Regions from separate parts of the Homo sapiens genome. Here region 2 is linked to region 1. The links are contacts of gene promoters, found by promoter capture Hi-C in blood cells and fetal thymus (Javierre and others, 2016). All regions are on one chromosome and are shown on one strand. The core of a region is centred on a gene start or on the middle of the fragment in contact, and the rest is flanking DNA. Distances in the headings are between cores, read along the strand shown.

Region 1 (2,700 bases), core at 200-2,699:
TTTTTGGACTGGTATAATGAGGTGGCTGGAGTTTCCTTTATAGCACTTAGAAATTATATGCAGTCCCCAAGCATTTCATAAGACAGTTACTATTAGAGTTAGTTTCAGATTCACAATAGTAAAACGCACTTTGTGTCAAAGCAATTCTCCACTGAGGACCGGTTAAGGAACTGGCAGAGAGCCCAATTCTACTTAGTCTACTGTCAGCATTTACATATAAAGTATTTTATACAAAAGACACGCATTCCTAAAATGTGACAAAAAAAGGCTCTCCCCAAAGAATGATAACTACTGGACTTAGAATAGTCAGAAGTGATTCAGATATAAAATTTCCTTTAAAAAGCAATAGCCATGTTCAGGGAAGGAAGGTAACATTAGCATTAAATTTAAATACTTCCACAATATTTAATAATAAAATAAACAATGTGCCACATCTATATATACTTCCTTTGTGACAAACTTTATCATCGAGTTTGGTAACTTTCATTCCAAGTCCAAAGAGAAGGCAATTTAAGTGACTTAACCTTGCTTGCTTTTAAACAGCTATGTATTTGACTTGACCTGAACAGCAATCCATATGCTGAAATCGAACGTGAATTGTGAAATGTGTAGACTACTATGGCAGGGATATTACTTTTTGTCCACACCAATTAAGAAGCCCTCTGTCAAGCCGGCACTTTGGTGAGGGAAGGAAATGCACAAAGGTATACTCTGACAGACAGCCATGCTTTAGGTCAAACTAATCCCAAGAATTAGTGGCTCAGAAGCATAACCCAGGGCAAATCAGTGTCTTTGGGGGGACTCATGGGAGCATCTTTCCACAGTGAACTAACTGCTAAATCTTAAGGCGTCTACTTCAAGGTCACAGAACATGCTGTGAAATATTAAAATCCACCAGGCTCCACACGCTCCACCATATCAAACATGCTAATGACGTGAACTAACTTCATGAAACTTTAAATACACTGGTGTGACAGGAACGAGTCAGGAGTGATTTCAATAGCTGATGGCAAACGGATACGACTATCTAAAAAGTTACTTTTAGCAACAAACAAGGAAATCATGGAATCTAACGAAAAAGAATGCACAACGAGCCTCAACTTCAGCCTTCAAAAAAGGCACAGGGATAGATAGACACAGTGCCGTGGAATATATTGATGCAGATTTTAGAGACAATACCCGGGTTTTCTATTTCCTCGAGAAATATCAGGGGTACTTACATGAAGGAAGACCCGATCAGATTAGTCCTTGGGATATTTTCCTTTCTTAAGAGAGAGAGAGAGAGAAAAAAAAAATAACAACAATAATCTTTACTTCGTCCAGCGTTGAAGTGCTTCTCCACCTGATTCAAACATGCAGCCACGGCGACCCACACAGAACCTTCAAAGTCAATCCAATAGCAGCCCGAAGATGTCTGGGTGTACGCGTGTGCTCAAGTGTCTGTGACTGCGAGCAGAGCGAGCAGAGAGCTGGAGACGATGTGTGCGTGTGTGCGCGCGCGCGAGGGGAGCGCGCGCGAGGGGGGGGGCGCGGGGCCGCGCATTCGCGCGCGCCGAGGCCGCTCGGAAGAGGAGGAGGAGGAGGAAGAAGGAGGAGGAAGAGAAGGAGGAGGAGGAGGAGGAGGAGAAAGTGGCTCTCAGCGGCCGGTCGGATTAAAAGTAACCAGACTCGTCCAGAAAACTGCGTCCAGGAAGGAAGTGACAGAAGACGAATGGGAAAAGGAGAACAGCTCACAGCGTTTGAAACATCGCGTAAAAAAGACTGGGGGTGGTGGGGGCGGGGGGGATTGAAGGATACTGGGAGGGGAGGCGGGGGTGGTAGGGAAGACGGAGCACGAATGGTTGGGGTTCTAAGCAGCACGTCCGATGAAATGTCTTTTGCCTCCTTTTTTCCCCCTTTATTTAATTTTGTCCTTGCCTTTGCTTCGCGCTGCCTTTTTCTCTCCGTCTCTCTCTCCCCCACAATCCCAAACCGTTGACTCTTTCCTCGCGAGCTGGAGAAATCATCAGTTTCACTCTTGCAAAAGGGGGGCGGGACTAGACCTCGGAGCATTTTAATAAAACAAACATACAGCAGCTCCCTCCTCACCCCTCCAGTCTCAACTAGATTGATAAATTACTCCACTACACTACTTTAATTATGTATATGGTATGCAGAATAAATCACTGAACATCAGTACCTCAATCAAGCACTTTTAAATGATAATTGCATCTTGGTGAATCAATCTTTCCATTCCTGACATTTTGCTAATTTTAGTTTTACGGTGGGGTAATAGCACATGCCATACGCAAACCTAATGACAATTCTTTATTGCACGAAATGAAGACAACACGGCGAGCTGCGGCTCCCTGCTCCTCTCGCGGCGCCTCTGCGGAGGACGCTCGGAGAGAACCTAGTCTCCCGCTGCGGCGCGCTCGCTTGCTCTCCGGGGACGCTGCGAGCCAGCCAGCAGGAAAGTCCTTCTAAAGTCGGGATCTTTCCTCTGACCAATAGGAGCGCGACCCTAATAGTTGCTCTTGTGACTTTTCCCCCTTTTGGACACGCGTTAGCCACTTCTCTCTTCCACCGGTCGGTGCGCTCCTCCGTTACTCACGCGTAAAAACCACGGTCCAGGATGTCTGCAGCACTCGATTCCAGCGTGCTTTTCCTGCACGCCCAGAAGTCGCGGTTTTCACCCTGAGAGGTTGGAGCGCTAGAAAG
Region 2 (2,700 bases), core at 1-2,500, 360 kb after region 1:
TATCTTCTCCTCTACAGATAAGAAGCTGAAGCTGTGGTCATAATTTCCTCAAAGTCACAGATTTCATTTACATAGCTCCAAAGTCAGAAATCTATCTGTGACACGCCATATCATAAAATGTTACTAATAGGAAAATATTTCTTTCTTCAGAACTGGATATAAATTAAACACGATTGCTTCATTGCAGTTATTTCATTGTCTATAAATTTATATTGAAAAATTAAAAGCCAAAAAGACTCTATCTAATATGGAAATTTAGTGAACATTTGTTGTATTTCTTATCTCCTTATCTATCAAGGTACTACCTATTTCTTTCTTTTCTTTCACCATTTAACATCTTTAAAGGAGAGGTTACATTTTACTTTCACAGTTATCTCAATGCATGTGTTAGTATTTATGATGTATATAGATACACATATAACATGCATGTATTCATAAATAATATATGCGTATATTATTTGTATGTTTAATAAGTAGAATCACATTGTATGTATAATTTTGCCATTTTCTTTTTTTACTGAATGTATTTTTGAAATGAACGTTTTCTTATGTAATAATTTAGTCCATTTATTTTAATTGCTAAGTAATTTTCCACCATATAAAGAAACCACAGCCTCAATTTTTTTTTGCATGACTCACTTCCCAATCTTTTGAATGTTGGCTTCCTCCTGCAGTTATCACTTGAAACTGCTCCATTAAAAGTCACCACATCTACTAGATTTTAAAAAATACTCATCATTTTTAATCCATCCTTACATTTGGTGCTGTTAATTACCCTCATTTTCTTGAAATTTCCTGCTTTCTTGATTTTCGGTTTTGTGAAAGTACACCTTTCTTGATATCTTTGTTCTTCTCCTTTTTGTTGTGTAAATGCAGGTGTTTCCCAAAGTTATATTCTTAATTTTCTTCTTTCTTCCTTGACAGTCTCATTCATATCATGGCTTCATATTGCAAATAACTCTCCAATCCATATTTGATTTGTTTCCAGTTGTCTGCCAGACATTGCTAGTTGGATGTCACACTTGACCTAAGTATGCACTTTTCCTCTTAAATTTGTTCCTCTTTCTCTGCTTCCTATTTAAGTAAGTGGCAGTGGCACCATCTTAGCAATCATCCAGGATCAAAAGCTTGGAATGATTTATAAGTCCCTTGGGTCTCATCAGTTGCCAGGACCTGCAAATTACTGTTCTATTCATTCTGTCAAATTGGTTCCCACTGCCACTACCCTAGTTTAAACTCCATGACTTCTAGGCTTTTCACAATAGTATAACTTGTTTTCATATTACTAAGTGTCTTTCCGCTTCCTAGGCATCCTCTATCCTGCTTGATTAATTTTCCTAAAGCACAATTCTGTTCATCATATTTCCCTGTTTGAAAGCTTTTAACAGCTCTCCATTGCCTATAAAATAAAGTCCAAACCCTTTAAGCTGAAATTCTGCTTCTCTGCAAATTGATTTGTTTACCCCTTCAAACTTATTATTTCTCTATTTAATATTCCTCATATGCCTGTCAAATTGGACATCTTGCTCTTTCTGTTATTTGCTTGTATAGTCTAGGTTAAATTGTGGTAACAAGCTGCTCCAAAAGTTGTGTCTCAAAATAACACAAGTTTATTTCTTACACAATTGATGTAGTCATTTCAGTCCAGCCAGAATGTTCTCTGTTCACTGCAGTCACTCAAAGACCCAGGCTAAGGGAACAGCCACCATCTTGAATGTTGCTGCTCTCTATCACGTAGGAAATAACTTTAGAGGGTTTTGCACTAGCAATTAAATATTATGGAACAGAAGTGATAAACATCACTTCAATTCACAACTCCCTGGCCAGAATTAGTCACATAGCCCTAACTCATTGTTAGTGAAACTAGAAAGTGCAACCGAACATGTGGAACAGGAGAAGAAAAACAGATATTGATGAACAGCATTGAAGACCGACACAGTTCCCAATATTTATTTTTATCATTTTTCTTCTGTAGACCAATGCTCATGAAACTAAAAATATTCTTCATTCTCTTCTATTCTTGTTCAGATCCTGCTTACTCTTAATTCCCAGCACAGCTATCACATCTTCAGTGAATTATTTCCTAATCATCCCAGACAGACATATTCTCCCTCTCCTCTAATTTCTCATAGTCCTTTATTTTTGAGATAATCATTGTTATCCTGTGGTTATGCATTATTTCCTAGAAGTCTGGATACTTGATTTTATACAAAAAACCTTATGTAGTCAAGGGTCAATAAAACCCTTGACGACATAATTTTTTCAGTGAATACATAATTCCCATAAATTGAATCAGAGTGTATTCTGATGACTTAGAGATTCATTTCTTTTGAAAGACTGACTTCTTCTATTACCTATTTATAGGGGAGATGTTTATTCCTCATTATATATAAGGTTGGATACTATATATATGTGTATATGTATGCATACACACATATACACACACATATAATCATTGTATATCTACATGTATGATATATGTATATTTATATATCTTATGTATATATACATATAGTTAGCAGCTCCTAGCTACTATGGTATAAATATAGAGTAAATTAATTATGAATCTGCCTTATTCTCACTCTTCTCACTCTGAAATTGCTGGCAGTGCTATTATAACTCTTTTCAGTCTTCCTTTTCGATAAATGGTTTATTTGACCATTGCCCTTTGGTAGCAATAAGATAGACAGTCTAAGGGCT

Evidence for each region. The method cuts DNA at HindIII sites, captures the fragments that hold promoters and counts their contacts. A CHiCAGO score of 5 or more calls a contact.
Region 2: a contact is called between a fragment that was not itself captured here and the fragment with the promoter of MEF2C in region 1, in 1 of 17 cell types (megakaryocytes). The highest score is 5.1, in megakaryocytes.

The regions. Positions count from the first base shown.
Region 1 is chr5:88,881,735-88,884,434 of GRCh38, forward strand. MEF2C (myocyte enhancer factor 2C) reads right to left here and starts at 1,450. Exons shown (of 11, transcript NM_002397.5): 1 at 1,221-1,450. It overlaps MEF2C-AS1 (MEF2C antisense RNA 1), which reads left to right and starts at 1,596. Exons shown (of 10, transcript NR_136219.1): 1 at 1,596-1,751. RefSeq lists an enhancer at 2,508-2,557. The HindIII fragment of the contact is 10,727 bases long and covers 1-2,700 here.
Region 2 is chr5:89,245,835-89,248,534 of GRCh38, forward strand. The region is part of intron 7 of MEF2C-AS1 (MEF2C antisense RNA 1); the gene reads left to right. Among named protein-coding and RNA genes, the nearest start is that of LINC02161, 330 kb to the right of the region's middle. The HindIII fragment of the contact is 251 bases long and covers 1,126-1,376 here.